2 separate regions of the Homo sapiens genome follow, and region 2 is linked to region 1. Evidence: promoter capture Hi-C in 16 types of primary human blood cells and fetal thymus (Javierre and others, 2016). All regions are on one chromosome and are shown on one strand. The core of a region is centred on a gene start or on the middle of the fragment in contact, and the rest is flanking DNA. Distances in the headings are between cores, read along the strand shown.

Region 1 (6,246 bases), core at 2,410-4,909:
CGAAGGTTTGGGAAAGGGGTTCGCTGGACACCCGGCACACCCGGCAGAGTAGGATGGGAAGGAGGAGGGGGTCAGAGGCCATGAGAAGGTCGGCCTTGGGGGAAGGGACTGGACAGCCCCACAGGAGGGGGAGGGGCCACCAAGGGCTGGAGCCGCCCCACCACTCCCGCCAGCCCCCTCCCCAGATTCCCCACTCAACCCTATTGGGGGAGCAGGAGGACGATGTCACCAGGGTGGGGACCAGATGGCTCTGCATTCTGGAGCAGGGTGGGAGGAGAGGCCCTGGGGGGGCTGGGGACATCCCGTCCTGGCCACTCTCTGCCAGCCCCCTCCCCTGGCTACAGGAGGGTGTGTTGGGCGCTGTCAGTGGGGCCAGATCACGTCCAGCTGCTCCCTCTGGTGGTCATACTCGGCAGGACCTCTGCCCGGCCCCAAGCCCTTAGCCTCCCTCCCCTACCCTGAAATTAACCCTCTAGTGGCCAACACCCACTGGGGGACAGCACCAACCCGAGGACATGATGATGATGAAGATGATGATGATGGTGAAGATGATGATGATGATGCCACCCCTTCTTCAGCGTCTACTCTGAGCCTGGCCTTGTCCTAAAAGCTCATCTATTAACTCATTCTGATCTTGCCAAAGCCCTCTGAAGTTAGTGCTGTCATCATCACCACTTTACAGCTGGAGGAAGTGGAGACAGAGGTCAGGGAACCTGAACTCTAGGTTACCCAGCTGAGGGCACAGCCGGGATTCAAACCCAGGCATCCGGCTCCAGGTTATTTTGCATTCTTTCTTTGGAGATCAGAGTTCATGGATAGATGGATAATTGGTTGTTTTAATCTGGACTAAATTTTAGTCATTTGGATAGATTCTGTCCACTAAATAAGAAACATAAGTAAATGACACTTGTTAGCTAAGATGAAATAGTAGTAATGTTTATACTCACTCAGCCTTCACAGCCACCCTGTGAGATGGGCAGTACTGCTATCCCTGCTTTACAGATGGGGAAACTGAGGCACAGGGAAGTTATGTGATTAGTTTCCTGGCTCTAGTCAGCTCTAAACCTAACCCCTAGGCTGTACCACCTCATCGCCTGGGGACGAGACTCATCCTGTGATTGAGGAATGCATGCAGCCTCTCTTGACACTGACGCCCACGCCCAGAAGCCTCGTTGGAGGATAAGGGGGCTTAACAGCTTGGAGGTCATGCAGATCTGGGTTCCAGGCCCAGTCCTGTGTGGCCTCAGTTTTCCCATCTGTCAAACGGGGACAATCGTGGCACCCGCTTCCCAGTTGTGGAGAGGACTCAGGTGATGGAGGCAACTCATCCTTTTGGGGTTCAGCACAAGGTGGGCATCCCACAGTGGTCGGCAAGCTTGGGGGTGGGCTCCGGATCCAGCTCCTAGAGGAGCAGACCCCAGCAGCTTGTGGTTTGAGCCATGCCCGTCAGCTCTCAGTTTCCTTCACTGACTATTGGGTATGATAAACAGGGTCCCTGAAAGTGAAGTTGGAGAGCTGAGTGCCAGGGGCACAGAGGGATCTGAACCCACTCTCATAGGGTGCCCAGCCCAGCAGTCCAGTTCACAAGGAGGAGGATGACAAGGACAATAATAATAGGCCAGGCACGGTGGCTCATTTCTGTAATCCCACATTTTGGCAGGCTGAAGTGGGAGGATCGCTTGGGGCCAGGAGTTCAAGACAAGCCTGGGCAACATAGAGAAACCCCGACTGTACAAAAAATTAAAAAATTAGCCAGGCATGGTGTCGCACGCCCATAGTCCCAGCTACTCAGGAAGCTGAGGTGGGAGAATCACTTGAGCCCATGAGGTTGAGGCTACAGTGAGCTATGATTGTGCCATTGCACTTCAGCCTGGGTGACAGAGCAAGACCCGGTCTCAAACAAACAAACAAAAAATGAAGTTAATCATAAGACAATGTCAAGTTCAGAGACCTCTGAGCCCTGTCCAGGATTATACACGTGATCTTAGTGATTTTTCCATTTTGGAGCATGTGAAAATGAGGCACAGAGCTGCTCAAGTTCACACAACCAGGAGTGCAGTGCCTGGGCCATTCCAGGTTTCCCTGTCACCAGGACCTGTAAACCTGGCCTGCCCATGGGGACGCCAGGTGTGTTGTCCCCGACAAGAGCTCAGGGGAAGGAAAGTGTGGGGTTAAATACATATCTGTGGTTTTGGAATGTGTGAACATGCAAGTGTGTCAGCCTGCGCATCTGTCACCGTGGCCAACCATGTGCCTGTTTGCTCAAGCATAGGGTGTGAACCAGTGTGTGTGTTTCTGCTTTTGTGGGTATGTGTGAGAGCGGCGGGTTGTCCTTGATGGTGTTTCTGCTTGTGTATCTGTGCCCATGGAAATCTGTCTGTGTGTACACAAGCTTGTTGGCCTTCCTATCTTTGGGACCATGTAGGAGTGCTGGCTGCATGTCTGTACCTTTGGGGTTTTTTTGTTTTGTTTTTGTTTTTGAGACAGAGTCTCGCTCTGTTGCCCAGGCTAGAGTGCAGTGGCATGATCTCAGCTCACTGCAAGCTCTGCCTCCCGGGCTCAAGTGACTCTCCTGCCTCAGCCTCCGGAGTAGCCGTGATTACAGGCGCACGCCACCACACCCAGCTAATTTTTGTATATTTTTTTAGTAGAGACGAGCTCTCGTCGGGTTGGCCAGGCTGGTGTTGAACTCCTGGCCTCAAGTGATCCTCCCGCCTTGGCCTCCCAAAGTGCTGGGAGTACAGGTGTGAGCCACCGTACCTGGCCATGTTTGGCCATGCATCTTAGAATGCATTTATGTGCGGTGTGCACATACTTGTGTGTTTCTGTATGGCCATTTGTGGGTGGGTCTTCACATAAACATGCATTTTTGTGGCCAGTTTGTGAGTGTAGATGGTGATGTGGCTATGTCTTTGACTGTATCTCTGTGTGGCCATCCATCTACATGAGCGTGCGTGGGTCTGTGTAGACATAAATGTGCTTGTTCTGGTATTTTGTGACTGGCATAAAAGGTGTTGGCTGTGTGTCCGGGTCTTTGGGTTTCTCTATCAGTGTGTCATTCTGTGTGTGTCTGCTTCTATGGATGTACATACATACATGGTTTTGTCTGGTTTTGTACCTGTATATCTGGGTCTTTGGGATTGTGTGTGGGTGTGTGTGTGTGGTGCATTTCTGGGGATCTCACCACAGCAGATAGCGCACATGCGCGCGCACACACACACACACACACACACCTCCCTCCCGTCCTCTAAAACAGCCCTGTTAAGGACCTCACGGAGCACTGGGATCGGGGGTCAGTGGGCTCCTGGGCAGTCAGGCTGGGTGACCTTCGGCCCTGGCTGGACCCAGTTCCCAGGGGGCAGCCGCCTCAGCCCAAAAGCTCTTGGAGGCGTGTGTGTTTGTGTGTGTGTGTGTTCACAACCCTGTCCTCCACAATCCTCCTAGCCTCTCCAGCCTGCCTGCTGGCTGCCTGCTGCTGCTCTCTCTGAACTGAGAGAGTTAACCAAGCGGGCCAGGGCAGTCTGGGCTGGGGGCCGCCCCCTGGCCCCCCTCCAGCCCCAGCTCCAGTTTCAGCTGCTGGTTGGGGAGGGCATGGGTGGGGTGGGGCTGGGAGGGGAGGCTGCTGGGGGCGGCGCGTCCAGCTCTGGGCCAGGGGGTCCAAAGTGCTCAGCCCCCGGGGCACAGCAGGACGTTTGGGGGCCTTCTTTCAGCAGGGGACAGCCCGATTGGGGTGAGCGTCCCCCACTCCTTCCCTCCAGGCCTCACCCCTGGTCTGGCTGGGCCGCCTATTTTGGGAGCAGGAGTGGCCAGCCCGAGGCTTCCCAGGCAGGCCAACCCAAGAGGGAGGGAGTGTGGTTGAGGCAGTGGGTTCTGCAGGGTGGGATGTGGGTGACTCCTCCCTGCCCTGCTGGTGCGTGTGCACCCTGGCAGGGTGTGGAGTTGGGACACACACGTGTGTAGGGCTGGTTGCGTCACTGCGTGGGGGCACCGGAGGCCCAGAGGAGGAGTATTGGATGCCTGACGGTGTTTACACCCCACGTCCTGCTCCAACCAGCAGTTTGGGGAGAGGTTGTTGTTCATGTCCATTCCGGCCCCACTGTGTGTGTGTGTGTGTGTGTGTGTGTGTGTGTGTGTGTGTATCCCTGCCCCAGCATGTGTTTTCTATCTCTAAGGCCCACTGGGCTGGGCCTCATGTCACTTGCCTGACATCCGATTGTGAAAGATGTCACCCAGAGGCGGGCAGAGGGGCTGTCTTTTCCTTTTCTCGTTGCTGCCCAGGGAGGAGACGGGGTGACCTTTCCCACAGGGGCAGCCTGTGGCGATGTGGCAGCTGGGCCTCACCCCGGCAGGGCTGTGCGTGACCCCCTGAGTGGGGGAAGGCAGGCTGTTGCCATGGTGGCCTGAGCGAGCAGAATTCCTCCAGGGTGAAGTGGGAGATATTTATACCCGGGGTCAGGCCGCGAGCGGGCGGGCGGAGAGGGCAGGGAGCTGGGATTTCGCGGGGCACAGTGAGGCCGGGCATGTAGGCAGGTGGGACTTGGGCGTGCCCTGCTGTCTCCTGCTCTGTGTTTGTGTGAGGCAGCGCCTCCTCTGCCCTGCCAGGGTAGGTCTGGGAATCGGGGGCCTGCTGCGGGAGGTGGAGGCCCAAGGGAGGCCCCCCGGGGACTGTGTGTCTCACCCCCGTCCCTGCTACGTTGTGTTGTTGTGTGATCCCATCGTGGAGGTTGTTTTGGTGACACTGTGTCCCCACGAAGCTGGGGATACCCGTTTCTCTAGCTTGGAGCCACCAAGATAGAGGACAAACACTTCTGTGATTCAGTCCCCAGACTGTCTCTGACTTAATCCCTTGGGTTCAAGCCCTATGTGGGAGAGCAAGGGCACACACTGCCTAATCCGTGGTGTCCCCCCCAGGACAATGGCGTCTCTTGGCCACATCTTGGTTTTCTGTGTGGGTCTCCTCACCATGGCCAAGGCAGGTGAGTGCAGGGGAGGCTGCCCGCTACCCACCTCAGCCCCAGGGGTGGCGGTGGGGACCGAAGAACCAAGTTGGAGACCCCAACCTAGACTAAGTCGGCTGGGGTACCAAGAAGTTTGGGGGTCTCCACGTGGGGTCCAGTCACAGGCTGGTATTTGGGGGAGGGGAGAGGAAGCCCCAGATCAGGCAAAGATGGGGTGGGATGGGGCTGAATCCCCGATGGGATAACTGGGTCACAGACAGCCTGCCGTGAGTCAGGGAGCTGGGGCAGTTAGGTGCCACCTGCCCCATCTGGGACAGTGCAGAGGGGGCAGCTGGGACCCAGAGAGTGTGGGCAGCCTGCCCAGACACCCTCAGACTCTAAGCCCAGCAAGGCAGAGCCTCCAGTGGTCTCCTCATGCCCCTCCCTGCCAGGACCCCAGGAAGCATTCAACCCCTGATTTCTCTCTCTTTCCAGAAAGTCCAAAGGAACACGACCCGTTCACTTACGGTGAGCGGGGGGTCTAATTTTGAGTCCTGGGGGAGAGCCTGGCTTTGCTGGTCCTTTGATTCCCCCTCGCCCTCCCCCAGAGTCCCAGTATTGATATCTCTGTCATTCTCCTTCCCTCTATTTTGTCCTTCCTCTCTGATTCCACCTGTCTGCATCTTTTCCTGTCTGTGTCTATCTGTGTCACTGTCTATGTGATACCTCTCTGGTTCTCTTTCTCTTGCCTGCGTCTGTCTCAGCATCTCGTGGCCCATCCTCTGCTTCTTCCCGTCTTCTCTCCCCCCTGTCCTCCTCCTCCCTGTCCCCTCCCTCCCTTTCCTATACACCCCTTTCCTCTCCCTGGTACCCCACTTTCCTCCTCCCATATCTGCTCCCCCTTAATTATCTTACTTCCCCCCTTCTGCCTGCTGGTCCTTTCTCCCTGTTCCCTCCTTCCCAATTTACCCCTCTCCTATTCTCCCTCCTGTCTTCCCTGCCCTCACCTTCCCTGCTCTGCTGCTCACAGACTACCAGTCCCTGCAGATCGGAGGCCTCGTCATCGCCGGGATCCTCTTCATCCTGGGCATCCTCATCGTGCTGAGTGAGTGCCCCTAGCTCCCGCCCTCTACCCCGCCTCTCCCTGGCCCCACCTCTCTCTGGCCCCGCCTCTCCCTGGCCCCGCCTCTCCCTAGCCCCCCTCTCCCTGGCCCCGCTTCTCCCTGGTCCCGCCCCTCCCTGGCCCCGCCCCGCCCCAACCCCTCCCAGGCCTTGCCCCGCCTACCCTGCCTTGGTTCCCCGGCCCCCG
Region 2 (6,246 bases), core at 1,573-4,072, 210 kb before region 1:
ATGAGACAGCCTCATCTGAAATCTCCAATTTACCTCTGACGATTAAACACCTAGACCCTCACTATAGTCACACAAGTCTTCACTCAAAACACAAGGGCATAGCAGTAAGATTGCGATCCTTAGCTGTCATCTATGGAGTGATCACTTTTGAGGGGCACTTTTTGAATAAATCATTTCAAAATCATTTCAAAAATTTTCTCAAAAAAAAAACCCTATGATTTAAAAATTTCTTTGACATTCTAAGTATTCTACTAATCTATTTTATTTCTACCCACCATGGAACCCACATTTCCCTCTGCAAAATACAAATTTCTATTGTATTCACCCCTCACCCCTGAACATAAATTTATCCTCCCAAACAAATTTCTGCCCAGATGACATTTTGACGGCTATTTACACATCCCCATCTCAGAGAGCACATTGTACATAATTTGGCCCTTAATGCAGCCTCTATGAAAAGTCCTTTAATCAGGGGACTAGATGAGTCCTTATTTGTCTTGAATGTCTCTAGTTCCTCCAGGACAGAAGTGATCAGTGACCACAGCCAGTTCAGGAATCACAGGATATTGCAAATTTGTCTCCGATTGACATGAATTGGGTGGATTCTCACTCCAGGTCTATCACCTTCTTATTTGTTAATGAAATATTTGTCTTCAGACATTGTAATAGATACCCAATGAGTTTCAGAGGGTTTGAAAATGAACACTTTAGACATGAATAGCCTATATGGTGAACTTACAGAGGCAAAGCGACTGGTCAACAAACAGCTGCTCTACCAAAAAAGCCTGGAGTTACAAAGCAGATGAACATTTTTGCAGAGCTGGAAACTAATTCCAATAAGGCTAAAAACTTGCTACTGCTGGTAGGGAAAATCCTAACTATTGACAGTCAAATGCTTTTGATGCGAGGCTACTTAGGTTGATGTTGATAAGAGAAAAGTTCCCTTGTCCCCCTGGCAGGGCGTGCGATGGGGGTGTGGCTCGCTTCTTCAGTGTCCCGCTGCTCAAACCTCCAGGGGAGTATACAGACGGGCGGGCTGTGGGGCTCTGACCCCATGGCAGTGTCTAGGGGTGAATGTTTATAGCTGAAGCCCCAGTGGGCGTGTTACAGGATGCTCTTTAGCTGTCCGCAGGCGGCTTATGTTAGTCAATTCAATTAGATCCCTGCGTTATCGCAAGGACAGAGGGCTTTCATATCCCGGGGTTCCTGTCTTGGTGTACCAGAAGAATCAGATCACACATGGGCTTGGAGGATGACTGCAGGGTTTTGAGTGGAAGTAGCTCTCAACAGTTGGGGGAGCCAGAAGGGAAATGGTTTTCCCCTGGAATCGGGCTGCTCCGCAGCACCGGCTCTCCTTGGACTGCCCCAGCCAAACTCCGCGTCCTTCTGGTGGGTGGCCTGCCCGCGTGCCAGCGTCTGTCATGTCTTCTTCCGCCAACATGTTCCTCTGGATGTCCAGCGGCTTGTGTGTCTGCTTGCTAGGGTCTCAGAGTATTTATAGGGACAGGATGGGGGCGGGAACAGGATGGGGGCGTGGCAGGCCAGGGTGGTCTTGGGAAACGCAACATTTGGGCAGGAAAACAAAAATGCCTGCCCTCACCTAGGTCAGTTGGCACAGGGCCAGGGGTGGAGCCCTAGCCAGGGACCACACCCTCCTGTACCCAGCACCTCCCTTTCCCCCTTCCATATCATTTAAAGGGACCCCGCCCTTCCCTCCCCAGCACTCCCCTTCCCCACCTCCTTATCAATGTCATCACCCTGGACTGACTCCAGGAATCACTGTAATGTGGGCTTAATAAGAACAGAGCTCGGCTGGCCGCGGTGGCTCACCCTGTCATCCCAGCACTTTGGGAGGCTGAGGCGGGTGGATCGCTTGAGCCCAGGAGTTCGAGACTAGCCTGGGCAAGATGGCAAAACCCCATTTCTACAAAAAATATACAAAAATTAGCCAGGTGTAGTGGCGCGCCCCTGTAGTCTCAGCTACTCTGGAGGCCGAGGTGGGAGAATCACTTGAACCTGGGAGGCAGAGGTTACAGTAAGCCGAGATAGCGCCACTGCATTCCAGTCTGAGCGACAGAGGGAGACCCTGTCTCAAAACAAAACAAAAACAAAACAAACAAAAAGCGGAGCTGACAGTCAAGGTGAATTTCACGTTTGCCTGTATTCAGTTTTAGCATTACATAAACCAAAAGAAGAATGCCATAAAGGCTACAGGCAGCTAATACAGAGAGGTGTTACTGGAAAAGGAACCAGAAAGAGTAAATATCTCCTAAACGTATGATGGGACAGAAAGATAAATGCCTATTACATATAGTTAATATCTGTTTGATTAGCCTTATTTACATTCTCCTTTTAAAAGGTCTTACATTTAGCATCTTAGATAGAACCCACAAAATTTAAATATTTAATAGAAACTTAAAATTCCTGTATCAGAGGACAGAAATATATTTTTCTCACACGTGATTAGTCTAATTGCCACTATTAATCCTATTAATATTCTGTTAAATAATAGCATTTCTGTAGCGAAAAGCAAACAGTACGGAAAGATAATTTCAAACACCTAGTTTTCATATTTTTGTGTTAAAGTAATAACATATTTTGGTATAGATTATCATTTTTTGTTTGTTTTTGTTTTTGCTTTTTCTGACCTGGTGTGTTAATGCCCTGGGTTGGCCCTCTAAGAAGCTGGCCACCTACTTCGGGCCTCAGGTGTCAGACGCCCCAGCTTCGAGGTCTATGGCTCCCAGCAACTCGAGCGCCTGCGCCTGCGCATTCTCAGCCGGACGGGAGCGCCCAGAAGTCTCCGGGCGCCGGTGGGCGGCCTTGTGGACTGCGCCGGGCATGCTCGGCGGTGTGACGGCTCAGGACTGCATTTCCCAGAGGCTGCAGCTATCCGGCCAATGTAGCCTGAAACTACATTTCTCAGCGGCCACTGGAACGACCTCAATCTCTGCCTCCTCGCCAGTTCATTGTGGTCGTTGACCCGGCAGCGAGCTTTGGAGTTCATCGAGGGAGAAGTCAGCGCCCAGCTCCGAGGTTGGAGCAGCCCCGCCGGGCAACTTGAATTTCTGCAAACGAACACAGCACCGGGAGCTCTGCAGACCTGTGTCGGCGCGGAACCCGGACTGAGACATGCGTGAGCGTTGGGTGGACCGGGCGAGGATCCCGGGCCGGCGAGTGCGGGAGCGGCAGGGCAGGGAGGGTGCGTCGGCCGGGGCCGGTGTGCATCCGCGAAGACTGGGTGCATGGCCTCCATGCGAACCTGAGCTATTAATATTTGTTACTATTTTGGATAAAATCACTGTAATTGATTTATGTAAAGGAGCAAAAGACTCTTCAACTCTCAGTTTAAAAAGGAAACGATAGTTATGATACCTTTTGCATGCAGCGGGAAGAAATGGGATTGCCAGGAAGCCTCTTCTTGTTTGGAAAAAACTGTATAAAGTATTTACACCTTTTAAAGATGAGAGCAATGTCATCTGAAAATTATCAGTGCAGGGAAAAGGACTTCAAAGGATCTGTTGTGCAGATTACTTAACTAATGACAAAATTATGTAAGAAAGGAGAGCAAGATGACAGCTGTAAACATTTCCATCAATCTCCATATTGCACAGAAATAGGACCCAGCTTTTTCTTAAGGTTCTTCAATTTTGCATTATCCCACAGCAGTAGCTCTCTCTCTCTAGCTGCTAGGGGACAGAGGAAATTGAAATGTCAGAGAATCTTTTCTGTTGGTTTTTTATTTGTTTGTTTTTAAAGAAGAGTTGCTCTTAATTTTTTAGTTAGAATTAAAAGAAAGCATGCCAGAGAAACTTACGTTTTAAGTAAAAAGTGGAAACAGGTCGGGTGCCATGGCTCATGCCTGTAATCCCAGCACTTTGGGAAGCTGAGGCGGGTGGATTGCCTGAGCTCAGGAGTTCGAGACCACCAACATGGCAACATGGTGAAACCCCGTCTCTACTAAAAATATAAAAATTAGCCAGGCATGGTGGCGTGCGCTTGTAGTCACAGCTACTTGAGAGGCGGAGGTGGGAGAAGTGCTTGAAGCTGGGAGGCGGCGGAGGTTGCAGTGAGTGGAGATGGCACCACCGCAATCCAGCCTGGGCGACAGAGCGAGATCCCTTCTCTAAAAAAAAAAAAATATATATATATATATATATATATATATATATATAGATAGATAGATAGATAGATACATAAATTAAATTAAGTGGAAACAAGTGTTTAATTAAAATGAAATAAAGGATGTATAATGTTTACGTAATAACTCCAATGCAGTAGTGCCCCCTTAATCGGCAGTTTCACTTTCTTCACTTTGTTACCCTCAGTCAACCATGATCTGAAAATAGGTGATTTTGGTACAATAAGATATTTTGAGAGAGAGGGGCCATGTTCACATAACTTTTATTACAGTATGCTATTATAGTTGTTCTATTTTATTATTAGTTATTGCTATTACTCAATTATGGTGGCCGGGTGCGGTGGCTCACGCCTGTAATCCCAGCACTTTGGGATACTGAGATGGGTGGATCAATTGAGGTCAGGAGTTCGAGACCAGCCTGGCCAACATGGTGAAACCCTGTCTCTAGTAAAAATACAAAAATTAGCCAGGCGTGGTGGTGGGCACCTGTAATCCCAGCTACTTGGGAGGCTCCCAGGAGGTGGAGGTTGCAGTGAGCCAAGATCACACCACTGCACTCCAGCCTGGGCAACAGAGTGAGACCCTGTCTCAAACAAACAAACAAACAGAAAAATAAAAATCTCTTATGGTGCCTAATTTATAAATTAAACTTAATCATAGGTGTGTATGTATAAGAAAAAACATAGTATATATGGGGTTCCGTCAGACATCTACTGAGGATCTTAGAGTGTATCTCCCCCCTGTGGATAAGAGGGAGCTACCATAGTAAGAGCTAACTCGGCTGCGCGCGGTGGCTCACGCCTGTAATCCCAGCACTTTGGGAGGCTGAGGCGGGCGGATCACGAAGTCAGGAGATGGAGACCATCCTGGCCAACATGGTGAAATTCCGTCTCTACTAAAAATACAAAACTTAGCTGGGCGTGACTATGCGCCTGTAGTCCTAGCTACTCGGGAGGGAGGCAGAGGCAGGAGAATCACTTGAATCTGGGTGGCGTAGGTTGCCGTGAGCCAAGATGGCGCCACTGCACTCACTCCAGCCTGGGTGACAGGGCGAGACTCCGTCTCAAAAAATAAAACAAAACAAAACAAAACAAAAGAGCCAACTCATGTTAAGCAAGTATTCTATTAACTTTTGGGGTGGGTTTTCTTATTCTTCAGGACAACCACATGTTGGAGCTGATACTCCTATTACTATTTTAGTGATGAGAAAACTGAGCCATATTAGTAACTGCCTGATCATTTTCTCCTATGTTCTCTACCTCCCGTGTCTTGACCAACCTCAGATTTATACTGTCACCATTAAAGAAGCTCTGGATTGGGTGATATGGACTCTTTCTTAGGCTTAGAACGTGGGAATGGAGTGAGGAGAATCTGTTCAAGAGAAGACTGTGCAACCCAATTTGAGACCTAGATCAACATTCCCAAAATGGGGGCCTGGTGGGAAAGCTTGTGTCTGATTCTGCCTTCCTTAAGAAGTGCCACACCTCTGCGATCAACTCTGTACAGCTTAGTTAACTGGGGCTTGAATTCCACTGTTCTCCAAATTTTGTTTGAGGGTGTTTGTAGCACAGTTTGGAAGCTGAAATGAAGGGACAGGAAGGTTTATTAATGTATGTCATTGAGAACACTAAAGCCTCCTTTTCTCCTCTCTGGATTTTCTAGCTTTTGAACTTCTCAGATAGAGGAACCCCAGTGAAGACTGATCAGTTCTTACAATTCTCAAAGCATGGCCCATGTAAGTTGGTGTTTCTTCTTGAAATATGGGGATTTTTATATTACGTGGCTATTTTCCTTAATTGACCTGAAGCATTCTTCATCAGAATGTACCATCTAATTGCCTACTTGATTCCTTCTGTTTGGCGGAATGATGTCAAAGTATCGTTTCCTCCTTACGAGGTCCTCATTTCTAATCGGTGTTCATGAATTCATTGAGCAAGTTACGAAGCAGGTAAATAGTAAGTCTTAGCTGAAAGGCTGTGATAGAGCAGTGGAGGATTGAAGTCCCGTGGCAGAAGTATTTGAGCTTCCTACATCCATCTGTGGTTTGATGAGTTTGATCTGTTGGCTTCATCTGGCCACACATCAGAAGATTTGAAGTTTTCCAC

What was found. The method cuts DNA at HindIII sites, captures the fragments that hold promoters and counts their contacts. A CHiCAGO score of 5 or more calls a contact.
Region 2: a contact is called between the fragment with the promoter of ZNF30 here and the fragment with the promoter of FXYD1 in region 1, in 5 of 17 cell types (neutrophils, erythroblasts, non-activated CD4 T cells and 2 more). The highest score is 10.8, in neutrophils.

Annotation. Positions count from the first base shown.
Region 1 is chr19:35,135,165-35,141,410 of GRCh38, forward strand. FXYD1 (FXYD domain containing ion transport regulator 1) reads left to right here and starts at 3,660. Exons shown (of 8, transcript NM_021902.4): 1 at 3,660-3,730; 2 at 4,912-4,976; 3 at 5,433-5,465; 4 at 5,968-6,042. The coding sequence starts at 4,916. RefSeq lists silencers at 5,972-6,101, 6,212-6,246 and an enhancer at 6,066-6,246. The HindIII fragment of the contact is 25,239 bases long and covers 2,391-6,246 here.
Region 2 is chr19:34,924,081-34,930,326 of GRCh38, forward strand. ZNF30 (zinc finger protein 30) reads left to right here and starts at 2,823. Exons shown (of 5, transcript NM_194325.3): 1 at 2,823-3,136; 2 at 5,804-5,876. The coding sequence starts at 5,868. ZNF30-AS1 (ZNF30 antisense RNA 1) reads right to left here and starts at 2,746. Exons shown (of 3, transcript NR_110749.1): 1 at 2,649-2,746. The HindIII fragment of the contact is 20,354 bases long and covers 1-5,585 here.